Regions from separate parts of the Homo sapiens genome. Here all the other regions are linked to region 1. Evidence: promoter capture Hi-C in 16 types of primary human blood cells and fetal thymus (Javierre and others, 2016). All regions are on one chromosome and are shown on one strand. The core of a region is centred on a gene start or on the middle of the fragment in contact, and the rest is flanking DNA. Distances in the headings are between cores, read along the strand shown.

Region 1 (3,335 bases), core at 1-2,500:
GAAGGAAGACTTACACTGTAGGAAAAGTTGAAAACCAAAGTTCTACTTTACTTCTCCTAAAGTGAGAACTTTGAAACGGAACCATTACTTTTGTTTCATCCCCCCGCCCAGTAAAAAATTTACATGTATGAGTCAGTTCTTCCCTCGGCCCCAACAGAAAAGATTCAGTATAACCAAGCTATAACTTGCACAAAGCAACAAGGAAAAAAAAACCTTGCTATCCCCATTACTTTCCTAATAGAGCAAGGACCCTACCACCCCTCACTCCATACTCTGCCTCTGCCCCAAGCAAGACGCAGCACCTGCCAAACCAGGCACTTAAGGAATATGGTCCAACTTTTCAAACGCAAACTGGAGAGGAGACGCAGATAATTTCTTGAAGAGTGCAAGAAGACAGCAGAAAAGGTACTCTGAGGAAGGGATGCGTGAGCTTTGGGGCTGTCCCCTCTGCCTGTTGGAGGATTCCAAATTCGCTTGCTTCAGAGACCCTTGGAAGCAGCACACTCAGGTCGCGGCCAGCCTCGGGCCTCGGTGAAGGAGGCAGTGTTTACACCTGTCACGAGGGAGGGGGAAGGAGAGCGAAGAAGCCCAAGCAAAGCCCCAAACTTCTGAACAGCTCCCTGGAGAACGCAGCCAGCGCGGAGCTTTGGGAGGTGGAAGCAAAGGGGCAGGGAGAGCCGGCGGTGGCCGGGGAGGGAAGGACTCCCACTTACCCGGCCGGTGCCCGGGATGGCGAGGAGGGGGCCGTGCGCTTCGGGCGCCACCAGCGGCGTTCCCGCACTCGCCGCAGAAGAGAGCAGAGCCGGGAGCCCGCAGGCCCGCAGAGCCAGCTCCGTCCTCACAGCTCCCGGCTCCGCGGCGGGCAGATGCTCCCGGCCCGGGTGAGGGTCTGGCTGCTGGGCCGGGCCTGGTCCCCGCACCCTCTTTCCCCGGCGCAGCTAGGGGAGCGGAGCGGCGGCGCTTACCTGGCTCCTTCGGGGCGGCTGCGATGGGCATGGCTCAGGGGCCCGGGGAGGAACTGACTCCCCGGGGAAGGACCGTCTATTCCGACGCGGAACTGGTGAGAGCGGAAGGCCGGCTGCTCACAGCCCTGTCAGCGCAGCAGCACCATGGACGCCCACCCGGAGTTTCACCGCTGCCGCGGGACCCCCATCCCACTACCCTCCGCCCTCTTCCGCCGCCGCCGCCGCCTCCTCCACCTCCTCCGCGGAGACCCCCCGCCCACTCCACACACTCTCCCATCATGCAGCGGGGGAACCGCTGCCGCCGACACGTCACTTCCGGGCGCAGGTGGCTAGGTCGGGACCGGGCGCTGGTGGGTGCTGTGGGGTGGGGGAGGACACTCCAGGGGAATTGGTGTCACAGAACGCTTATCCCTGCGCAGGCGCTGTCGTGCAGAGCGCCGACCGCCATTTTGGGTGCGGGCAAGCTGCCCTTTCCTTTTACTTCCTTGCGAGTCATAGAGCTGTAGGGGGATAGACGTCTTCCCGCACTCAGGCGCCGGTTGAGGCTGCGCTCCTGGCGAAGGACAGGTGCTCCTTTCAGCCGGTTAACGTTCAGCTCAAGACCGGATTAAGTCTCTTGCTCTCCAAATAAAATTGTAAAGGTTTGGAAATATAGAACCACATTTTTACCAAAAACCTACTAGAGAGCATTCGTCAGCTTGCCCTTTTCGCCCCGAAAAACGACTTTTTCATTCACAGCCTGTCTCTTCCTCTTTTTAAATTTATGCCGACAGAGGAAGAAGCTGATATTTAACAAATAACAAGAGGTTGCGATAAATAGAATTTAAGGTGGGAAAGCAGCCGCCAAACTGACAAATCGTCTTCGAGACCGACAAGAAAATAGTAGTCCGGAATTTGGCTAATGGATGGAGAAGGTGGTCGTTTTTCATAGACCCTTACGGAGAATATCTAGTGAAGCTAAAGAGATCACCATAAACTTATGCATTCAAACGCATTTCTGGAACAGAGGTCGTAACCGATTTTGTTTCCATCATCAGTCCTGAACAGTTGATTATTTATATAATCAACTGTTATTTATATAAAGGTAATAAAAATATTACCTTTCCTCCTCCTTTACAATGAATATCTGTTAGAACACCTGCCAGTGTAACAATCAGACTACAAGGCTACAGGATTATGATTACTGTCTCGGATGATGAGCCCGGGGTCCTACAAATCATGACCCCCGCCGGCCCCTCATTCTGCCCATATTTGCCAAACGTCTGCATCAGTAATTTGAATAATTTAAAATAGTTCCAAAACAGCAAAGCTCAGCAGTTACGCAAAGAAACAAGAATGGAAAACATCCCCTCAGGCACAGAGAAGTGTCCACCCCTTTGGGTGGAGGAATTATACAAATCAGGAGAAAGATAAGGACAATAGCAGTTCATCACGATTTATCCCGCCTCTGCAATGTTCTAGACAAATTAACTCGGAGCGCTCCAATGGACCCGCATTTGTCTCTTTACTATTCAATCGCTGTAAGATATACGGAGACTGCATCACTTTAAATGGGAGTATCAATTGCTTTGTGGTTATGCTGGATTTTGTGTTATTGCTCAGTCACTAAAGTAAGAAAAATCTATATGGCTTGTCAAATTTATGCCTATTGTATTTCGCCCCCTGCTGGTTTAGCTCGTGTGCAAGCTTGAATTTGTGTGTGTGTAGAAACTAGAAATTGATTTTAAACGAACACATGCTTGTTTTCATTTTACAGCTCTACTAAACAGAAATATCAAAATAAGAACATATGACTAGACCTTAAAGCAGACCCTACACTAAGAACATGTTTAAACTAAATGAATTTAAACTGCACTCCAGCCTGCGCGACAGAGTGAAACCCTGTCTAAAAAAAAATTAAATTAAATTGCACACCCCCCATCAGCTTACAATTTTGTAATAGGGAAATTGAGTACCTATTTGGCCAACTAACTTGTAATTGGTAATCTTACATGTAATTCCGAAGACAGTGCCCTAATGCTCATGACATTTTATTACAAAGGGAAAGTATTTGAGTGTTTTTAAGGTGATAAATCTGTGGGAAATATAAAGTCCATTTCATTTGGAGTCAATGATAGTATTGTTTTTATTTACCTTTTAAAAATTATGGCCATAACTGCATTACCTAAGATTTGGCATCAAGAAAAGAAGAAGAAAAAAATTACCAGTTAACATTTGTTGTATTTACTTCTAGTTTTTTTTTCCTGTGCGTACTTTTTACAAACTTGTAATCATAATTTAAGTAGATTTTGTGTCCCTTTTGTGTTGTAAGCATTTCCACCCATCGTTTAATGTAAAACCTTAATTTTAATTGGCTGCTTAGTAGTCAAT
Region 2 (3,550 bases), core at 466-2,965, 460 kb after region 1:
CAGCTACCCGGGAGGCTGAAGCAGGAGAATGACATGAACCTGGGAGGCGGAGCTTGCAGTGAGCTGAGATCACTCCATTGCACTCCAGCCTGGGCAACAGAGCAAGACTCCATCTCAAAAAAAAAAAAATTTTTTTTAAATATTATATAGATTTGATTTTTTTTTTTTTTTTTTGACAGAGTCTTGCTCTGTCACCAGGCTGGAGTGCAGTGGCATGATCTCGGCTCACTGCAAGCTCTGCCTCCCGGGTTCAAGCAGTTCTCCTGCCTCAGCCTCCTGAGTAGCTGGGACTACAGGCGCATACCACAAAACCTGGCTAATTTTTGTATTTTTAGTAGAGACGGGGTTTCACCATGTTGGCCAGGATGCTCTCGATCTCCTGACCTTGTGATCCACCCACCTCGGCCTCCCAAAGTGCAGGCATGAGCCACTACACTGGCTTTTTTTTTTTTTTTTTGAGATGGAGTCTCACTCTTGTCGCCCAGGCTGGAGTGCAGTGGTGTGATCTCTGCTCACTGCAACCTCCGCCTCCCGGGATCAAGCGATTCTCCCGCCTCAGCCTCCTGAGTAGCTGGGATTACAGGCGCCCACCATGACATCCAGCTAATTTTTGTACTTTTAGTAGAGACAGGCTTTCACCATGTTGACCAGGCTGGTCTTGAACTCCTGACCTCAGGTGATCTGCCCCACCTGGGCCTCCCAAAGTATTGGGATTATAGGCATAAGCCACCACGCCTGGCCTATAGCTTTGATTTTTAAAAGGTTTGAAAGTATCTTTCTCAAGTCAGTGTCACTATAGGATTTATCTGGGTAGGTACAGCAGAATGGGGCTAGGAAGTAAATGACATTGTCAAGAGATTAGTTAAAAGTAATACATAATAGGCTGAGCAGGGATCTAAGTAAAGATAGAAGGGAGTCAATAAAGATTAGGAAGGAGCCTGAGTAGTCTAGTCATTTTTGTTTAGGTGTCCATCCTGCCCCAGTATGGCTTATGTACCTAAGGGAAAACAAACTCCTGTTTCAGAAGTGTGCCCTGATGTTTTAAGTCAGTGTTTCTTCATAGAGGCACTATTGGCATTTTTGGCAGACCAAAATTCCACACGACTGTCCTGTGTCTCCCCTCCCCCATCCCTCTTCCAGTAAAAGCCAGTGGTACTCCCAGTCAGAGCAACATTTCCAAATACTCTGAAGGAGGCAGTGCTGCTCCCAGTTGAGAACCTCTGATCTAAATCAGTCATCATAATCTCAACTCCCTTGTCACTGTAATTGGCTCAAAAATGGATAACTTAGTTCAGAGCTAAGCAAATTAGCACATGGCATTCCCCTAGTCACCATGATTGGTTCAGGTTGTTCTAATTAATGAAAGGCCAGGATTTTTGTTTGATGGTTAAAGACTCACTCCTCAGTTCCTCTGGACTTAATGCAGAAGCATGCAGGCTCAGTTGCTGCTGACCTCCAGCCTGTATAACCACGAGGGGAGCCAATCCCAGAATGAAGCTCACGTTGAGGGTGCGAGAGTAGAGAAAGAGAAGAAACAAGGCCCTTGGTATGTCTGTCTGGCAGGTAACCCAAGGCCTTTGCCACTGCTGAATTTTCAGTTACTTGAGTCGGTAAATGCCCTTAATGTTTAAACCAGTTAGACTTGAGTTTCCTGTAGCCTGCAAATGAAAACATACTACTTAAAAGAGGGAAGCAGAGGGAGGTTGAGTCAAGGGAGTGAAATACGGGGAAGGATATAAATGAGAGTAAGGGATACAACAGATGAATGAAGAGGCTTATGTCTTGGGTAGAAACTGAGGAATACAGGGACAATAGGTATGCTAAGTTTGGCTGGATGCGAGATTTTACAAAAATTAGTCTGGTCTCTTAGACTGGGGGTTGGGGTAATCAGAACAGTTCTAGTATTGTGTTGTGATAACCCAGTGAGGTTTGTATTACTCCAATGTATAGAAGAAGAAACTTGAGACCCACCCAAGTACCTAAAGCTAGTAGCTGGCAGAGGTAAGCCCTAGCAAATTTGATTCCAGCACCTAAGTTCTTTCCACTGCTTCCCCATTGTTATGTGATGCCAATGGGGTGGAAATAACCAGGGTGAGAACAAAAAACCCTTATTAATCCTTCCCACACCTCAATCCAGGATGAAGGGCAAGACCAAATGGGTCAGTGGGATTGTTTTCCCCTGTAAAAGCGATGGGCCACCTGTAGGGTCGGTGGTACAGTGTTTGGAGTACCATGCACAAATGGGTCATGGGCTCGCTGGAAAGGCAAGACAGACAGCTTACCCAACACCTACACAAATGAAGGGAATAACCACAAGGTACACTGAGGAGAAGTGGCTCAAAGATTCTGGTGAGATGAAAACTATTTAAGGTTAATTGCCAAGCACTGAATATCACATTCTGTGCATCTGCATGCTTCTCATTTCAGAAACTTATTTTTCCCCTTTTAATTTATTTTTGAATAGTTCATGCATGCATATGGAAAAAATGCAAAAGGTACAGAAAACGTTCCATGAGAAATAGGTTTTTCTTCCTTCTCTGTCCCTCAGTTATCTTCCCTGGAGGTAACTACTGTTGACAGACTCAATCTTTCCCCTCCGTCTCCTTCCTCCCCCTCTCTCCATTAGAGGCAGGGGTATGTCAAGCTGAGTTCTCTTTATTTGGTAGCAATACAGACCTTCCTAATGTAGCAGGGTTTAAATGTACTCACTAAAAACTAGATTTACAAAAAAAAGCAACTTCATTGTCGATAATGATTTCTTGCTGGAAAGCCCCCATTCCTAACGTAGGTGGAAACACTTGATCTTGCCAATTAAAGGTAACACAGTCTCTTTACGTTTACAACAGTTTTCCTTGGAAACTCACTCAATCTTTCAAGGTTTCTCCCTGATCCAATGGTTCTCCTCTCCCACTTCTCTTTCTTAAGATGTCATTCGGGTCTTGAAAAACTGGCAGAGCAAGTCTGTCTGCCATCATCCAGGCTCTCCCGGCCTCCCTTGATGAGGAAATTATCTCCGGCTTTTGGGCCTAGAACCATTTCCACTACTGACAGCCACGGCCCCTGCCATGGCTCTCAGTGGCAAGGACCATAAGCCTCACAACTTCTTGGCCCAAGGGCCAGGCCTCTTCCAGCCCATTCATCCCATTAGCCTTTATCATTCTACCACTGGATCTCCTAAAGACCATGCATGACCCCAAAGAACAGAAATCACTATCTCAAGCTACTTCTCTGTAGTTACCCCGGTTCCAAACAGAAAGCAGGATACATGCCTCCTCTTCTTTTAGTGCACCCTCCACTCATCTGGGGCAACCCTGTGCTGGTACTCTCTGAATGTCCCAAATTCCTGCCTGCTGCTTTTTTTTTTTTTTTTTTTTTTTTGGGACAGAGTCTCGCTCTGTTGCCCAGGCTGGAGTGCAGTGACGCGATCTCAGCTCATTGCAACCTCCGCCACCCAGATTAAAGCAATTCACCTGCCTCAGCTTCCCGAGTAGCTGGGATTACAGGTGCCCGCCACCACGCCCAGCTAATTTTTTGTATTTTTAGTACAGAT
Region 3 (3,601 bases), core at 481-2,980, 490 kb after region 1:
GCGTCTATTGAGTTACCCATTTTTTTTCTTTTTTTTTTTTTTTTTATTATACTTTAAGTTTTAGGGTACATGTGCATATTGTGCAGGTTAGTTACATATGTATACATGTGCCATGCTGGTGCGCTGCACCCACTAACTCGTCATCTAGCATTAGGTATATCTCCCAATGCTATCCCTCCCCCCTCCCCCCCATTTTTTTTTCTTTTTTGATTTGTAGGAGATATTAAAATTTTTATCTTTTAAAATATCCTGAATATAAGGCCTTTTTAGCTACAGGTGTTGCAAATACCTTCTCCCACTGGGCTTGCCTTTTTATTCTCTTAATGCTGCCATTGGACAAACATGTTACTAATTTTTTTTTTTTTTTTTTGAGACAGAGTCTCGCTCTGTCACCCAGGCTGGAGTGCAGTGGCACAATCTCGCCTCACTGCAACCTCTGCCTCCTGGGTTCATGCCATTCTCCTGCCTCAGCCTTCCGAGTAGCTGGGACTACAGGCGCCCGCCACCACGCCCAGCTAATTTTTGTATTTTTAGTAGAGATGGGATTTCAACATGTTGGCTAGGATGATCTCGATCTCTTGACCTCATGATCCACCCACCTCAGCCTCCCAAAGTGCTGGGATTACAGGCATGAGCCACAGTGCCCAGCCTTCTTCTCAATTCTTATATTGTTAAAAATGTCTTTTTCTTGAATTGTTGCACTGACTAGAACCTCCAGTGCAATGCTGAAAAGAAGCAGTGATAGTGGACTTGCTTGTCTTTTGTACCACTGCATCTCTAGTGTCTAAAATGGAGCATGGGACTCAGTAGCTTTTCAATAAATATTTTTAAATGAATGACAGTAAAGCTGAGAGAAGTGGGAAGATTGGTTCCTGCTTGATCATTTAAGCTTCCAGATCCCACCATGTCTTAAGTCATCCCTAACCTTGGACTTCTTAATGACATGAAGCAATAAATTTGTTCTCCCTTTTTATGTTGTTTTCACCACGTTAGCCAGGATGGTCTCAATCTCTTGACCTCATGATCTGCCAGCCTTGGCTGCCCAAAGTGCTGGGATTAGAGGCATGAGCCACTGCACCCAACCTGAATCATCTTTAATCCCTACCCATTTCTTAGCTTCTTTGTCCAGCCAATCACCCAGTACTGTCAATTCTGTCTCCAAGGATATCTCTTCAATCTGTTGTTATGGACTGAATGTTTGTGTCCCACCACCCAAATTCATATGTTGAAGCCCTAATCCTCACTGTAATGGTATTTGGAGATGAGACTTTGGAAGGTAATTAGGTTTAGAAAGGGTCAGGATGGTGGGACTCCCTTGAAGGGATTAATGTCTTTATAAGAAGAGGAGGAGACTGATGTTTCTCTCTCTCTCTACCATATGAGGACATAAGTAGAAGGCAGCCATCTACAAGCCAGGAAGAGAGCCCTCACCAGAAACCTGACCATACAGGCACCCTGAGTTCAGCCTCTGGAACTGTGAGAAATAAATTTCTGGTGTTTAAGCCAACCAGTCTATGGTATTTTGTTACGGCAACCCAAGCCAACGAAGACATCTGTCTAACTGGTCTTAGTCTTTACCTGACACCTGGACCCCTTGGATAACCTTCTAATTGCAGGTGCCACACCTTCTTTTGGTCATCTCCACTAATTCACTTTCCACATAGTGGGTCAAACCGATCTTTTAAAAACATGCTTATGTCACCTCATTGCCCAAAGCCCTATTATAGTTTATAATAAAGCTCAAACTCCACCAAGACCTACACCTTCTTGTATGCTCTGGCTTTGGCCCAATTGTCTCATTTAATGCCAGCCACATTGGTCCTTTGTTTCCTCTACTAGCCTACTAGTTCTTCATGCCTCAGAGCCTCTTTCTGCTGGCTGTTTCCTCTTCACCACCACTACTCCTCTACCCTGACCAACTCCTATTCATTTTTCAGTTTAAATGTTGCTTTCTTGGGCAAGGATTCTCTATTTATCTATGTTAAATTATACTCAGCTTGACAAGCTCTCCTAACTTCTGCCTTCTCATGATACATATCCTAACTGTTGTCGAACAATTCCTATAATTGTTTAATGTCTCTCTTCTCACTCCAGATTGTAAGTTCTATGACAGCATGAACGGAACCAGTCTTGCTTACTGCTAGCTTATAGGACCCAGAACACCCTTGATAAATATCCATTGAGTGTGAATGGATATCTGGATATTTATTTAAGAATGAGGATGTGTGCTGGGGGTTAAGGAGTTCTTGTGTAGAAATATTTTTCCTACCTCTTCATTACAATAAAAGATTTAGAATGAGAATCACAATATTGGTTCCATCATTAAGGGGAATCATAATTTTGACAAATTTAACCTCATTCTGGGGGCAAGTAGTGAGTAACTGAGGTAGCCACCAATATACTGGAGCAAAATATAGGTAGGTCGGCAGGCAGTAAAGAATCAGCAATTTCCTTCTTGGATGCCATTAACCAGAGAGATATGCTGACCACCTGGAATCAAAGCAGCACTCCACTGGCATGCATGAGTGAGCCAGTTTAATCATAAAGACAAAGCCATTTATACAAGCTTTTTGTTTGCTCATTGATTTGATGTATGCTTGTTGTAGAGCTCTGCAGGGGGAAAAACTGTCAGTTGCCTGACTTTCAATTTGTAATAGACACAGAAATATGTATGCTTTGTAAATGTGTCCTTTATGCTCATTTTACATTTCTTTTGCTATGCATACTGATCTGCAAAGTAAAGTTGGGACAAACTTAGAAGAATAGAAATAGGCTTTTGCATATTTATGAAGGAAGAATACACGAAAATAGGCTATACATTTTCTAAAATACTGGATTCTTGCAACCAAACAAGAGATCTATCTTTGGACTTAAGAACTGGTAAAGAGTATTTAAAATAATAAATTAATGTATGTTGATTATTTCCTAAGTTATTAAACATCTGTTACCAAGCAAAATCTTTCCTACAAGATGGTTTTTTCTTACAAGTAATGAAAAACTTCATATTTTAGTGAAAGTTCTAACTTTTCCTTTGGGGACAGTGAGAGGAGAATACAATTTTTTTTTAATTCAAGTAATAACTAATTTCAGTTAACATAATTCTTACTTTTCCAGCTATTTGTTGTTATAGCATTTCCTCAGTATAGTGCGAGGCAAAGATCACTAGTCTTAATGTCCTTAAACCTGGTTTCTGATTGGAAATCAGCTGCCACCACTAAAACATGATCTGTCTCAGCCCTCGTCTGTCAAATGAGAGGCATCTGCTGTCCTAAAAGTCTGATTTCAGTGATGTTTTCTTTCTTTTGAGTTTATTAATTCTATTTTATATATTGGCTTAAAAGCTATTAAATAAAAGCATGGAAGGGAAAAAAATGCTGTTCTAAATATAAAGTAAGATTTTTGGAAGTAAGACTTCTACATTGAAACCAGATTCTGATTGAGAACTTTTTATTAGAGCTCAGGAATTCATAGCAGTAAAGAGAGTAAAAAAATACAGATGTTTTACTGCCTGGTGTAATGGGAACCAAAATGACCAGACAGTGGCATGAGAATTAAATGACCTTTATAATGCATTTTGGTATCCAGGAAAATCCATTACATA
Region 4 (3,473 bases), core at 840-3,339, 470 kb before region 1:
ACACTGCACTCCAGTCTGGGCAAAAGAGCAAGACCCAGACTTTAAAAAAAAAAAAAAAAAAAAAAAGCTGTGATCCCCTTAAAAGTCCTAATAGGCCACCACTATCTGCCCTTTTGGCAAGAACTTTTGGTCTCCCTCATGAGTGGTTTTTTTTTGTTGTTGTTTGTTTGTTTTTAAATACGGATGTCCTAGATTTTTGTTGTTTTAAGTGAACAATCTCTCTCTTAAGTGCAGACAGCCATCACATTTTCCAGAAGGAGAAATGGAAACAGTTGGAAAGGCAAGTCACTTTGCCCAGGGTTTGCTGTTTTTCACAACCTCAGCAATGAGGAGCTTTGCCTCAATAACTCAAGACAAAATATATTAATAACTCCAAGGCTCAGAATCCAAAATCATCAGAAATCTGGAGAAGGAGCCAGCTGGACTCCTCACTCAACTGAACCTGGTTAGATCAGTAAATGCCTCCGGGCTGCAGTTTCCCCATTTGTGAACTTTGGGCTAATGGAGAAACCAGGAGAGACCAAGGTTTTGGATAAGTCACAGAAAGGATACTACATCATCTCAAAGGATGAAATGCAACTTCTAAGAATTGCAAAAAGCAGGCAAAACTAAGTGAAGATGCTTCTCTCCCTCCCCTCTAGAACTCACACTTTCGCACAAAGAAAGGCCTTTGAAACACAGCACTCTGCCGTGGTCTTTACTGGGGTGGACAGCAACCTGTCCCAAGCCCCAAGCCCTCAGGAGAGGCATATTTCTGGGCAATATGTCTCACTCAACTAACCCCAGCCCTATTATCCGTGGGTCCACTGATAACTGCAGAAAATTGCCAGCTTCCTTCGCAGCCAAGGACTGTAACAGAGAAGGCCATAGATTGCAAGCCGGATGACCCAAGAGGCAAAACTTAACCAATGCTCCCAGAAGCTTTTAGGCACCATGTGGGAGAAAATGAGGCGAAGCCACTGGGGCGTGGTCGGAACATTTTTACCGGGGAGAGCAGCGCGAGAGTATAAGGAGTAAAGAACAGGCGGGGCGGCTGGCTCTTCCCTAACAAACGCCCACCTAACGGTGGGGACTGGTTCTTGCTCAAAGATGCGGCCCTGCTCTTTCGATTGTGCGGTGCGCCCCAGCTGTTTGCAAAGGTGTGGTCAGCACGCAAAAACTCCAGACGTCATTTTGATATTTTTAAAACGTTAAACGCCACCAGCAGCCAGCTAAGAATTAACTCTTAGGAGTGTATAAGCATATGGGTGTATGAACTGGAGGGCATCCGAGAACTGGCGTCTCCCACTGGGCCCTGGGAGAGGTGGAGAGTGTTACCTGGCCAGGTCGAGGAAAGAGTCCACCGTCTCTTTGGGGACAGGAGGAGGCCCCGAGTCCTCCAGCCCCAGGTCGCTGGACTGAAGGGTCTGCGCACCGGATCCTGGCTTGATGATGAACGCCAAGGCCACGGCGAGCGCCGAGGCACTCAGTGTGGTGAGGCCAAAGTAGGCGACAGCGATGCCGCCCAGACGCCCGAGGCAGCTGGCATCGAGCGAGGCGGCGCCCGACACCAGGCTGCAGACCACCAGCGGCAGGATGATCATGCGCAGCATGCGGAGCAGCATCTCGCCGGGGAAGGCCAGGTAGGTGACCTGCGTGCGGCTCAGGCTGAGCCCGCGCAACGCCGCGCCCAGGCCCGCGCCCGCCAGCACCCCGGACACGGTGAGCAGCACCAGCGCTTGGCGCCGCAGGAAGCCCGCGCAACGCCGTGCGCGTCCCGCCGCGGTCCCCGGAGCTCCGGGCCCGGCCGCAGGCCCCGCCTGAGCGCTGTCAAGGTAGCCGTTGGTCTCGTTGCTCTTCTCCATGGCGCTACACGCCGCTCCGAGCTAGAGGTGGCAGGGGACGTGGGCTCTGGCAAAAGACGGGGTTCCCAATGAATGGGTCGGTCGGCCAGTTGTGCTCCGCAGGTTCTGGGAAGCCGCCCCGGGGGTCTCCGGGCCTGGCGCAGGAGCAGGTGCGAGAAAGGCGAGGAGAGGCGCAGAGTGCGGGTTGGAGCCGCGGGCGGAGAGGATCGCGCCCAGCCTCCCTGGAGCAGCCGCCGGCTGGAGATGATGCAAACGGGAGCCGCGAACGCGGACGCAGACGGGGAAGTAGGAGGGCGCGCCAGCGGCCCCAGCCCGCTCACTTCACGCCCGCCGTCCCGCCCCCTGTGGCGCTGGCCAATCACAGCCCGGGAGCCGCCGCCGGGAGCCGCCGCCGGGAGCCTCTGGTCCCCACCCGTGTCGCGGGTGCCGCAGGGGGCGGCCGGGCGGGAGGCTCCACCCGAGGCCGCGGGGGCGCGGGCGGCGCCGGCCAATCCTGGCGCCAATAGCCGCCTACCCGCCCGGCTAACGGAGGCCGGCTCCGGGCGACCGCGGGGAAGTGCGGGCTGAAGGACCGCCCGGGCTCCTTGGCACCTGCCGGGCCCTCTCCCGCGGCCGGGATCTGAGTCCTCGGGGCCAGAGGGCCCGGGAGAACTTAGAACGCAGCGGCGTTCCTCCTCCTGAGGACTGTGGGAGGGGAGGGAGGGGAGGGGAGAAGAGAGGAGGAGAGGGGAGGATCCCTCTCTCCCGGGTGGCGCTTTCGCCCCGCGCGGCCCGCGCTCCTCTCCAGAGCTCGCCGGCCTCTCCCGCCAGGGGGCCGGGCGCGGTGAGGGGGCCCGGGGCGGTCCTGCCGTCGCGTCCCCTCCTGCGGAAGATCCCTTCTTCCAGGGGTCCTCAGGGGCTTGTGCGGTAAAGCACGCCATGGTGCCCAGCAAGGCCCCGGCCTTGAGACAAAGGACGGACCGGAGGATGGATGAATAAGGGGAGCCTTCGCACGCGCTCATTAGGGCTCTAACGCAGCCATACCGCTAGAGAAAGGGGGCTCGCTGTGCCACCAAACCCGGCGCCCCTGGGCCGCGGAACCGCGCGCACCGGGGCGCTCCTGGGCTTGTGTCCTGGGGCCATCAGGATGGGGCTGGGTCGCCCGCCAGGCAGCTGTCTGCGGTATGGGCGTTTAAGACGCAAAGCTCTTCTAGAAGAAACAGAGCTCTCACGCCACCACTTCCAGTTGGTTTCTGCCACGTAACCAAAGCTGAAACACAAGCCACTGGATTTTAACCTCTTCCGTTCCCAGGCCTGAGCCCTGGCGAGAAAACAGCGCAGACGGCGGTTTGGCCATCCTGAACGGTTCCTTATTGTTCACGTTCTATGGATTTCCTGTTTATTTCATCTTTTATTTGATATCTGCTTTGGCCACGCGAGTTACAAGGGAAACTTCTGCTGAGTCTTTTTACTGTATCACAGTTATTATATTTTTATATTTTTTTATTCTGCTTGTGAATTGTTCTTTAAAGACTTCCGTGGGTGGTCTTTTGTTTTTTCTTTTTCCTTCCTTCCTTCCTTCCTTCCTTCCTTCCTTCCTTCCTTCCTTCCTCCCCCCCTCCCTCCCTCCCTCCCTTCCTTCCTTCTTTC
Region 5 (3,481 bases), core at 293-2,792, 480 kb after region 1:
TCCATCTTAAAAAAAAAAAAAAAAAAAATATTCCCAGGTTGCTCCTTGGGATTTTTGCAGGAGGCCAAAAATGGGAGCAGGCCTAGCACAGTGTCTATCTCATTGCATAAAAGCTTGAATTGTTTGTTTGTTCTGTCTTTGGTGGGGACAGTGTGCCCAAGAAAAGGAAGAACATTTCCCAAACTCAGAAAAAAGAAAGCAAAGGCATTTGGGACATGCCACCCCAAAATATGCTACTTTGGTATACTAATTATTTGAAGCTGAAGACACTTGAAAGACAGCAAATGCAGGGAGAGGCTTTCTCTGAACTCTCCCTTACCTGCCTGAAGACAGATCCTCCAAAATGAACTCAGTTGTCATTAATTCCCCTCTCTGGTAGGTTAATCAACCAGGAAGATTGACTATTACAACAGGACAGAAGATTAGAAGTGGACACCACTTCTATTACATCTATAATAGAATGTAAGAGTTTGCTACAAACGATTCCATCTCCCTAAGGGCTCATTCTTTCCCCCAAATTATTTACCCTCTCCTAAGTTGTCCATATCCCTCTTCTTCTTTCCCCTACGAAGACAGTATAAGCTCCCAAATCTCACCACTTTTTTGGGTATTCATTTTTTTTTCTCTTGTGATGCCCCATCCATGCAATAAATTTGTATACCTTTTCTCCGGTTAATCTGCGTATTGTCAGTTTGTTTCACAGACTCAAATTTTAAACCTAGGAGGGTAGAGGAAAAGTCTTTCCCTCCCCTGTAAAAGCAAGAATGAGGTGCTAGTATAGGGCCCATCATTTTATGCCCCAGAGCCTCCTCTTCCTTCTCCATTCTCCACTCCCACCCTGAGACCATTCACCATCCATCAGCTACTGTGGTCTACCCCCCAACACAACTTTTAAGAGTAGGTTTTGCTTACCATTATCTTCCTGCAAAGGGTACTCACGACTCTAAACTCCTCTCCCTGAATTGTGCCGTTGTATCTGGGAATTTATCAAACTTCAAGAATTCCTTAGGGATTCCAATGTTGAGTAAACTCAAATATAAACAAGCTGACATTTACAACTAAATATCCAATATCCAAAAAGTTTACAATATAAGAAAATAAGGCCAAACACCAATAACTTCTAAGCAAAAATAGCCGAAAGACAAATGCCTTGCTGCCTGGTTTTTAGCCTTGTAGAATCTGTGGCATTGTTATGGTTGATACAATTGTAAAATATCTGCAAAACATTTGCCAGCCTCTTGATGAAACTGAGTTATTTTCTTCACTGTAAACCACGGGAGAGCCCCAGATTGCCACTCCAACATCTCCTACCTGTATTCACAAACAGGAAGATGTAGGCTATGAAAGCAGGAAAGGACAAGAATATTTTTGTTGGTGTAAGAGAAGGCTTTTTAAAAGTTGCCTCAACAGCCAAAGAAATGAAATGAAGCCTTGTATTATCTGATCCTTCTACACATTTGTGTGTGTGTGTGTGTGTGTGTAGTTTTTCAAATAACTTTTTTTTTTTTGAGGTGGAATCTCACTCTTGTCACCCAGAGTGGAGTGCAATGGCGCGATCTCAGCTCACTGCAACCTCCGCCTTCCAGTTTCAAGCGATTCTCCTGCCTCAACCTCCCGAGTAGCTGGGATTACAGCCGCCTGCCACCACACCTGGCTAATTTTTGTATTTTTAATAGAGACAGGGTTTCACCATGTTGCCCAGGCTGGTCTCGAACTCCTGACCTTGTGATCCGCCCGCCTCGGCCTCCCAAAGTGTTGGGATTACAGGCATGAGCCACGGTGCCCAGCCTCAAGTAACTTTTAAGGCAACATTTTATTTAAAATTCTGCCTCTTTAACTTTCATTTTTTTTTTTTTTTGCTTCTATAGTTTTTTATTTGCATTCATTTAACACACAATTTTATAATTTACACATTTTTAATGTCTTGAATTATTCCTTTGAGTTGTTATATAAAAATTTACCTAGTTGTTGAAGTTTAGTTTCCTATGTTTTTCATTTTAGTTCATACTGAAATAAATATGTTTGTGGAAAGTGCTTTTCTCCTTACTGCAAGTTAATCTACAATCCATTACAGTGAAGAGCATGTGGCAATGCTCAGCAAATATTATAATTTTGTATAATAAATTATCAAGAATGAGAATATGGGGTAAAACAAACATTGAAACAATTCTGGTGTAAAAAAACAACATCTTGATACAGATTACTAAATAGCTTTCTAAAATAATTCTACTTATTTGCTATGTCAACAGATAAGTTGTTTAACACATTATTTCCATCGATACATCTTTTTAAATCTTATTCATTAAGAAGAGATTAAGGTATGACAAGAATACTGGTTAAATCAAAGGACATAGAGAGTATGAATGAATATGGAGAGTGTGGGTCACATTTTCAATTTTTTTTTTTTTTTTTTTTTTTTTGAGACACAGTTTCGCTCTTGTCTCCCAGGCTAGAGTGCAATGGTGCGATCTTGGCTCACTGCAACATCCACCTCCCAGATTCAAGTGATTCTCCTGCCTCAGCCTCCCAAGTAGCTGGGATTACAGGTGCCTGCCACCATGCCCAGCTAATTTTTGTATTTTTAGTAGAGATGGGTTTCGCCATGTTGGCCAGGATGCTCTCGAACTCCTGACCTCAGGTGATCCACCTGCCTTGGCCTCCCAAAGTGCTGGGATTATAGGCATGAGCCACCTTGCCCAGCCTCAACTGTTTTTAAAATCTTGACTATAGTTTAATTTTTCATTTAAGTCCGCATTCTAACTTGCAGGGCAGAACATGTAATGGGATCAGTTAACCATCCCAATTTGAACATCTTAAATCTTGGATCGGTTTTAGCCCAAAGGACCAAAGTGGGTTTGAATTTGTTATAAGGTGAATTTCCAGCTAGCAGGGAAGGACAAGAGGCCACAGAACTTGGCCATTCAAAGTGTGGTTTGCAGACCAGCTGCGCCAGCACCACCTGGAAGCTTGTTATTAGGTTGGTGCAAAAGTTATTGTGGTTTTTGCCATCAAAACCGCAATTACTTTTGCACCAGCCTAATAGAAATGCACAGTCTTGGGCTTCAGCCCAGAGCAACTGAATCTTAATCTGCATTTCAACAAGAGCTCCAGGTGCTTCTTATGCACATTGAGTTGGAGAAGCCACCTTCTAGACAGTGAAAATTGCTACTGCCAGTTGTCTAAGGGCTTTAGTAGAAAAGATAGTTCACCATGAATATTAAAACATGAATCTAAAGGTAACAAAAAACCTTCTATAATTTTAATTTGGCTGGTTCTTTTGAAAACATTCTTTATAGTATAGTTCGGCTTTTAAAAAAGTCAAATATAGGCCGGGTGCGGTGGCTCACGCCTGTAATCCCAGCACTTTGGGATGCTGAGGCAGGAGAATCGCTTGAACCTAGGAGTTAGAGGTTGCAGTGAACTGAGATCGCACCATTGCACTCCAGCTTGGGCAACAAGAATGAAACTCCGTCTCAAAAAA
Region 6 (3,800 bases), core at 500-2,999, 430 kb after region 1:
ATAAGGACCAGCAGCCTTGTATACCTCTTGTAGCACCTGAAGACATCACTGCATTTCAGCTTAACGTAAGTGGTATTTATAGTGTAATGTTCTGCAGTCATCCTAAAAGATTTACTTATATATGTTCACTATATTCTGTTAAATAAGGTAGAATATCTCTTTAAATATCTCTAAAGAGAAAAAAACTACATGATACACATATTTCCATCCAAAAGGGTTAAAATTAAAATCTGCAGCCATCTAGAAATCTCAGCCGTTCCTGAATTCTTCATTCCCTAAGGGTTTCGTATATTATTGTAAGTTCTCATTTAATTCCATGCTCTAAGTGATTACTTCATCAGAGACAGTCTGACTGATTAGTTTTCAAGAGTATAGATGCCCCCAGCGTTAAGTATGGTAAACTTCAACTTTAGAAATTTCAGAGACCTAATGTTCTCTCCTTATTGTGCCCTTCTTGAATGGATTTTCCACTGTGCTCTTTGAATGGGTTTATAGGTATTTTTTTTTTTCCCTCAGATTGGCCGGTCGACTGAAAGCCCCATTGATTTTGTAGTAACTGACACGGTTCCTGGAAGTCAAAGTAATTCTGATACACAGTCAGTACAAAGCACTATATCAAGATTTGCCTGCAGAATCATATGTGAACGGAATCCTCCCTTTACAGCACGGATTTATGCTGCAGGATTTGACTCATCAAAAAACATCTTTCTTGGGGTAAAAAGCTTTTTTTCTAAATGATGCTTTCTTTTATACTAGCTTTCATTCCAAGTTACAAGTTACAAGTTGGAAGCTCACTGCTATTATTTCTACTAGGAGAAGGCTGCCAAATGGAAGACATCAGATGGACAGATGGATGGCTTGACCACTAATGGTGTTCTTGTGATGCATCCACGCAATGGGTTCACAGAAGACTCCAAGCCTGGAATATGGAGAGAAATATCGGTGTGTGGAAATGTATTTAGCCTACGTGAAACCAGATCGGCTCAGCAGAGAGGAAAAATGGTAAATACTGAATGGTATTTTCTTAATTAGCTACAATAAACACATAGGATGAGTAGAACTGAATGCATTACATACATTCCAGAAAACTCTTAAATCTATTGCCAACACAGAATACTAAGTCTATCAAACACTGACTACCAAATTCTATACTAGAGGACAGTCTCTTTAATATTTCGTTTAGTAGCCGGGCGCGGTGGCTCACACCTGTAATCCCAGCACTTTGGAAGGCCGAGGCAGATGGATCACCTGAGATCAGGAGTTCGAGACCAGCCTGAGCCACATGGAGAAACCCTGTCTCTACTAAAAATACAAAATAAGCCAGGCATGGTGGCGCATGCCTGTAATCCCAGCTACTCGGGAGGCTGAGGCAGGAGAATAGCTTGAACCTGGCAGGCAGAGGTTGCGGTGAGCCAAGATTGCGCCATTGCACTCCAGCCTGGGCAACAAGAGCATTTTAGTAAACTCTGGAAGTTCATTCTTCTGTCATATCATGTTAATATATTTTAAAACCTAAGCTTTCTTAAACTAAACAGCACTCCCTCTGATCTTTTCTGTTGCCATCTGTATATCTTAAACCATATTTACCTCATTAAAAATATTAGACTTATTGATTAGCCAGATGTTTTAATCATAAGTTGTCTTTACCATAAGGCTAAAAAGAAATATGTTAATGTTTGATATTTTATCCTTGATTTTCAAACTTAACATTTTTCATAACTACTGTCAGTTTCTTGAATATTTAGTGAAAATCCTAGGAAACCTCATTTCTTGAGTAAGGAGTACTTAAAACCAAAACACTTATGTAAAAATCCAAAACAGAGTGGTGAATATGTTTTTCAACTCTTGTCTCCTCTAGGTGGAAATTGAAACCAATCAGTTACAAGATGGCTCGTTAATTGACCTCTGTGGTGCAACATTGTTATGGCGTACTGCAGAAGGCCTTTCCCACACTCCTACCGTGAAGCATTTAGAAGCTTTAAGACAGGAAATCAATGCAGCACGACCTCAGTGCCCTGTAGGGTTCAACACACTAGCATTTCCTAGTATGAAGAGGAAAGACGTTGTAGATGAAAAACAACCATGGGTATATCTAAACTGCGGCCATGTACATGGCTATCATAACTGGGGAAACAAAGAAGAACGTGATGGAAAAGATCGTGAATGTCCTATGTGTAGGTCTGTTGGTCCCTATGTTCCTCTGTGGCTTGGATGTGAAGCTGGATTTTATGTGGACGCCGGCCCTCCAACCCATGCGTTTAGCCCGTGTGGGCATGTGTGTTCAGAAAAGACAACTGCCTATTGGTCCCAGATCCCACTTCCTCATGGTACTCATACTTTTCATGCAGCCTGTCCCTTTTGTGCACATCAGTTGGCTGGTGAACAAGGCTACATCAGACTTATTTTTCAAGGACCTCTAGACTAACAGACCATTGTCTTGCAGGACTACATTATAAATTTATAAGCTAAGTGAGTTGGGTTTTCGAACCTGTTGTCCACGTCACAGTTTTTCTGCTCTGGTCATTTGCATTAAGATGAAGAATTTTTTAAAACATTTATAATAAATAGTAGCAATTTCTGAGCAAAAATCTGGGAAACTCAAGCAAAGGAATTTCTGAAAGTATCAGTCTTCTGAATTCTGAGTTTTGAAAATATATTTTGAGGAGAAAAAGACATAGTCTAATTTGATGCCTTCCTTTTAGTGTTTTTGAATCACCTATCCTCAGTGCTGAAATTGTTTTGTATAACTGAGGGTACTGTTGGTTCAAACTATGTTAGTTTACAGTTTGTTGCAAACATTGTAAAATACAGCGACATGTATATTAACTTTTTTCTATTTATCTTTATTATAGAAAATACCTTAGAATGTTCTTGATAGAGTAGCATGGTAACGATGGTGTCACACCCTTGGTGTGAATGGTAGCTTAGTGAGCAACCTAGCTCAAGGATTTGCAAAGTTAGGAAGAAGGACGAGAGAGCCTCTCTCCCCACCCCAATCTAAATATGGAATTTGGTAAATTAGAATACTTTGTAATTTGTAAGACCAAATTCATACTAATTACCCGCGTGAAAGGTGTTTGTTTTTAACAACATTGAAGATAATCAGGAAAGATTTTTTCTTAATGTTTCTCTCGAGCGTAGTACTATAACAAAAACTTAATGCTAAGAAACATTTTATATGCTCCTTTGGATATGCAATTTAATCTAGATTATCTATTTTTCTCCCATGATAACTAATCTGTTTTTAGTATCAGCAGCATTTGGCAAGTTTATTTTTTGGATATAAACTGTGGTTCATCTGTTCACTGTTTCTAGAAAAAAATCATTGCCATAAGAAAAAGTATAAATTAGCAAGAAAGGAGAGTGACTTGATTTGCTTTTGGAAAAAGAAATGCTTAATTAATTATTCTGTATTTGGCCTTATTCGGGCATTAGGAAATCTAGAGATCTAAAGGGTTGAATGACAATAGTGCCCCCGTTTTTAGCAGACCAGCCTTAACTCTGGGTTTGAATCCTAAGGAGATTGCCACAGTGAGACTTAAGGAAATGTTTGGTTGGCAGATGAGCACCAATGACTGCAGCGTGGAGTGACGCACTGCATGGTCTGTTTATTCTCTAATTCCAATATGTCTTTTGCTTCCAGAAGCAAGAAAAGTTTCTTCTCTCCCCTCCTTCCCACCCTTTTTTCAAAGGCACCACAAGTATAGACAGTTGCACTACATCAAATCTTTTTTTGACACTTGTAGAAACCAGTACACTTTTAGATTAGACAGTATCTTCTTTTAATATTTTGATTTGTT
Region 7 (3,580 bases), core at 928-3,427, 490 kb before region 1:
CGAAGGAAAGTCATGATTGTGAGGGGCCCTGTTGCTTCCTGGAGAGCATGCTTCTAAGGCATTGGCTTTACCTTATTCTAAATTGATTTTCTTTAAACACTTTTTATTTTTATAGAAAGAATAAAAAAGAGCATAAAGAAGCAAACAAGCCACTCACCCCTAGTCCCCAACTGAGTGAATCTGTATGCCCATTTTAATCTATTTCCTTCCAGTCACCTTTCTATACACGTATTTTATATGTATTAGACACCATAATTAAAAATCACACATAAGCCAGGCACAGTGGCTCATGTCTGTAATCCCAGCAATTTGGGAGGCTGAGGTGGGAGGACTGTTTAAGGCCAGGAGTTTGAGACCAGCCTGGGCAACATAGTGAGATCCTATCTCTACAAAAAATAAACAAATTAGCTGGGCATGGTAGAGTGTGCCTGTAATCCTAGCTACTCAGGAGGCTGAGGTGGGGGGATTGCTTGAGTCCAGGAGTTCAAAGCTTCAGTGAGCTATGATGATGCCATTGCACTCTAGCCTGGACCACAGAGTAAGACCCTGACTCTAATAAGTAAACAAATAAACAAACATATTGGGATAATAGTGTGGATACGGTTTTGTGTCTAGCTTTTCTTCCACTGAATAATACACTGTGGGAGTTTCCCTTCTTTTTCTCATTTCAACGCTACTTTACTGCGGATGTTAATCTTCATATGTGTTCCATTGCCATCGGCAAATATAAATACCATCTCAAAGAAAATATCACTATCCTTTCCAGAAGCTAGCTTGTTGTGTTATAGATTAGCCAATACCATTCCCCTGTCCCTGGAGCTCAGAGGAAGTATTGTGCACATTTTGAAGAGAGGGAAAAATGTGATCTTCCCTGAGGGCACTGGGGAGCTGACTCCCTGCAGAGTGCCGTCCTGCTGTCTGCAGAATCAGAGGGGATGGGGTGGCTGGCAGGCCTGTGTGACTTCAGGTCTCCACTGGGCAGCCGGCTTGGTGCCCTGTTTCCCTGTTCCTGGCCAAGCACCTCTTTGATGCCTCTTCTCCACGCACAGGAGGTGGCTGGGTGAGGAAGGAGAGGGGGCCTCTGTCAGCTCTGGTCCTGTCCAGCTGGCCAGCTCAGGGACGGAGTTCCCTCTGATGAGGTGTCTGCGCAATGCAGGTCTCTTTTGCAGATTTTACCCTCATTGCTCTGAGAAGCCCCTTCAAGTTGGAAAAACCACCATTCCCACCTGCAGCAGGCCAGTCCGTGAGCCCAGTGCCAGGCCCTGCCTGTGACGAACCTGGTCTGGAGTGTCTTTCTTTGCTGACATGAATTGAATGTTTTACCACGTGCTCATTATTCTGTGTGCTGTTCCCGTGCTAACTCGCTCAATCTTCCCCACAACCCTGGTGTGGGTGCTATGATCATTCCCATTTTACAGATGAGCAGACCAAAGCACACACAGTGCACATTACACAACTACTAGATGGCAAATCTGGGATTTCAATCCAGGCACCTGGGCTCCAGGGCTCATTTTCTTACCCACAGGCTCTACTGTCTCAACTTTAGTACCTCAGGCAGCCTTCCCTATAAAATAGATATTATTCATGCCTGCAAAAGGTATCATGTGACTCAAGGAATCCATGCACAGAAACTGTTTTGTGTCTTCACAGCAGCCCCAGAGATGTGGTCTGGATCACACCTTCTTCCCTACCTCCTCCTCTGCTGAGCCCAAGCCCAAGTCACTCACATCAGCATGGTTCATCCTCCCTCCCCTCACAGAAATCACTCCTTAGAATCTTCCAGGCCAGGGACAATCATTCCCAAAGGATCACTGCTCCATCGACTTATTACTCCTATGCAGTCAGCAACTCCATAGACCCTCGTGTCCCTTGGGCCTGCGCTGAGGGCCTCAGCTGTGGACCCCTGCTTTACTGGATGCTATAAGCAAGTTCTTGGTAATGACATCTCATGGTCATTCCTGGATGTTTGGGGGCATGTGACTCTCATATTGTTTAATTTTTCCTAGCTCTAAATCTTGCCCTTTTAGCTCCACTGTAGCCTCCTTCACAAGGCTGGAGTGTGTCTGAAGTTTCTCTGCATGGCCCAGGCCCAGCAGTGCTAAGCTCCTAGGGAACTCAGTGCAGACTCTTTTTGGTGTTCTCAGGACTTGTTACTTACACAATCCAGTCCACAGCCAGGATCAGAGGCAGGTCATGAGTAGGCAGCCCAATGGCCTCCAGGATAATGGCAATGGTGAGGACCCCTCCAGCTGGCACGCCTGCTGCTCCAACACTGGACGCTGTGGCAGTCACTCTAAGGGATGGCAGAGCAGGGCCAGCCATTAACATAGAGCGTGGAGTGGACACAGAGAAATGCAGACCATGCAGCTGCAATGTGGCTGGAAACTAAAAACCGCCCCACCATAGGCTCTGCTGGCTACGCCCTTGAGAGTCAACACACGCTCTTCAAGTAATGAATCCCCACTGTCCTCATTTTATGAGCGAGACACCAAGTTGTGGTGAGATTGGTTTTTCAAAGGAAATCACAAGAAAAGCCTTCAGTTTTGAGCCAGGGAAAGAATGAGGAACTTACAGAATGGTGAAAATCTGTCCTGCGTTGAGCTCTACGTTGTTGAGTTGCGCAATGAACACCGCGGCCACACACTGGAAGATGGCTGCTCCGTCCATGTTCACGGTGGCCCCGATGGGGAGAATAAACCTGCTGATCCTCTTGTCCACACCATTGTTCTCTTCAATGCACTTCATCATAGAGGGAAGGGTCGCTGAGCTAGAAATGGGAAAAACAAACCGCCAGACATGACAACAGTCCGAGGCAGGCTAACATGTGTCTTGTCTCAGACCCCAGAACAGAGCAATTAGCACCATCTTCGTTTCTGGCTTTCTTCTCTTGAAATAAGGGAAAAAACAGAATCACTTTAAAACTTCTGTCACAACATGAGGCTTTGGCAACTCCCAAGATACTTAAAATATGACTGCCTTCATTTACCTATTCTGTCATTTACTTGGATTCACGTGTTCCAAGTTTCTTAAGAACTGCACATTGCCTCCCGGTGCAAAACGTTCCCGAGAGAACAAACAACTAGTTTCTCTACATGTGCATCTCCTCTCTTGAGTGTTCCCCTCCCAAAAGTAAATGGTAAACTATGATTTTTTTTTCTTTTAGGCCAAAACCCAGAAATGGCTCTGTGAGCTTGGAAGAATAACTAAGTAGATAACCATAAGAACAGTACCTGCTCCCTCTAGCTGGCTCTGCGGGCTCTGCAGAGGTTAGTTGGTGCAGCTGAGAAACAGGTTTTTGTCTAGGCCAGAGGAACTTCCTTCCCTAATTTTTTTTTTTTTTTTACTCCCACCTCTGTGTTATATAAATAGCCATCCAGATTGGGAGGAAGTGAGCAGTAGAGGCAAAACTAAATGTGTGAATGAAACGACGTGCTGCCGTCCTTTGAAAGTTTTAACATATTTGGAAAACCCAGTGTTTTTTTTTTTTTTTAAGGTTTTCCAGTGAATGACAGGATGCATCTCTTGTGCCAAATGAGACAATCCCACACTATTGTGGACTCCTAGAGGGCTAAGCATCCAT

What was found. Contacts are between HindIII fragments. The CHiCAGO score rates a contact against its expected background, and 5 or more counts as called.
Region 2: a fragment that was not itself captured here is called in contact with the fragment with the promoter of AFTPH in region 1 in 3 of 17 cell types (total CD4 T cells, naive CD4 T cells and activated CD4 T cells); the score reaches 6.3 in total CD4 T cells.
Region 3: a contact is called between a fragment that was not itself captured here and the fragment with the promoter of AFTPH in region 1, in 10 of 17 cell types (naive CD8 T cells, naive CD4 T cells, megakaryocytes and 7 more). The highest score is 9.2, in naive CD8 T cells.
Region 4: a contact is called between the fragment with the promoter of SLC1A4 here and the fragment with the promoter of AFTPH in region 1, in 1 of 17 cell types (fetal thymus). The highest score is 8.0, in fetal thymus.
Region 5: a contact is called between a fragment that was not itself captured here and the fragment with the promoter of AFTPH in region 1, in 15 of 17 cell types (naive CD4 T cells, activated CD4 T cells, total CD4 T cells and 12 more). The highest score is 15.2, in naive CD4 T cells.
Region 6: a contact is called between a fragment that was not itself captured here and the fragment with the promoter of AFTPH in region 1, in 1 of 17 cell types (activated CD4 T cells). The highest score is 6.6, in activated CD4 T cells.
Region 7: a fragment that was not itself captured here is called in contact with the fragment with the promoter of AFTPH in region 1 in 2 of 17 cell types (total B cells and monocytes); the score reaches 6.1 in total B cells.

What each region holds. Positions count from the first base shown.
Region 1 is chr2:64,522,243-64,525,577 of GRCh38, reverse strand. It overlaps AFTPH (aftiphilin), which reads right to left and starts at 1,250. Exons shown (of 10, transcript NM_203437.4): 1 at 966-1,250. It overlaps AFTPH-DT (AFTPH divergent transcript), which reads left to right and starts at 1,423. Exons shown (of 1, transcript NR_136167.1): 1 at 1,423-3,335. MIR4434 (microRNA 4434) reads right to left here and starts at 65; the gene lies at 13-65. RefSeq lists enhancers at 371-871, 872-1,372, 1,474-1,693 and silencers at 744-993, 1,004-1,083, 1,114-1,273. The HindIII fragment of the contact is 6,179 bases long and covers 1-2,653 here.
Region 2 is chr2:64,065,135-64,068,684 of GRCh38, reverse strand. All of the region lies in intron 1 of LOC124907774 (a long non-coding RNA gene), which reads left to right. Among named protein-coding and RNA genes, the nearest start is that of VPS54, 47 kb to the right of the region's middle. The HindIII fragment of the contact is 5,792 bases long and covers 1-3,550 here.
Region 3 is chr2:64,028,401-64,032,001 of GRCh38, reverse strand. No RefSeq gene overlaps it. Among named protein-coding and RNA genes, the nearest start is that of VPS54, 11 kb to the right of the region's middle. The HindIII fragment of the contact is 1,677 bases long and covers 892-2,568 here.
Region 4 is chr2:64,988,015-64,991,487 of GRCh38, reverse strand. SLC1A4 (solute carrier family 1 member 4) reads right to left here and starts at 2,089. Exons shown (of 8, transcript NM_003038.5): 1 at 1,318-2,089. The coding sequence starts at 1,844. RefSeq lists silencers at 1,690-1,869, 2,080-2,779 and an enhancer at 1,503-2,087. The HindIII fragment of the contact is 3,825 bases long and covers 924-3,473 here.
Region 5 is chr2:64,045,685-64,049,165 of GRCh38, reverse strand. No RefSeq gene overlaps it. Among named protein-coding and RNA genes, the nearest start is that of VPS54, 28 kb to the right of the region's middle. The HindIII fragment of the contact is 2,853 bases long and covers 116-2,968 here.
Region 6 is chr2:64,093,327-64,097,126 of GRCh38, reverse strand. PELI1 (pellino E3 ubiquitin protein ligase 1) reads left to right here. Exons shown (of 7, transcript NM_020651.4): 5 at 517-714; 6 at 814-1,002; 7 at 1,859-3,800. The coding sequence ends at 2,425. Among named protein-coding and RNA genes, the nearest start is that of PELI1, 49 kb to the left of the region's middle. The HindIII fragment of the contact is 459 bases long and covers 1,520-1,978 here.
Region 7 is chr2:65,017,258-65,020,837 of GRCh38, reverse strand. It overlaps SLC1A4 (solute carrier family 1 member 4), which reads right to left. Exons shown (of 8, transcript NM_003038.5): 6 at 2,573-2,767; 7 at 2,159-2,293. Among named protein-coding and RNA genes, the nearest start is that of LINC02576, 12 kb to the left of the region's middle. The HindIII fragment of the contact is 3,369 bases long and covers 493-3,580 here.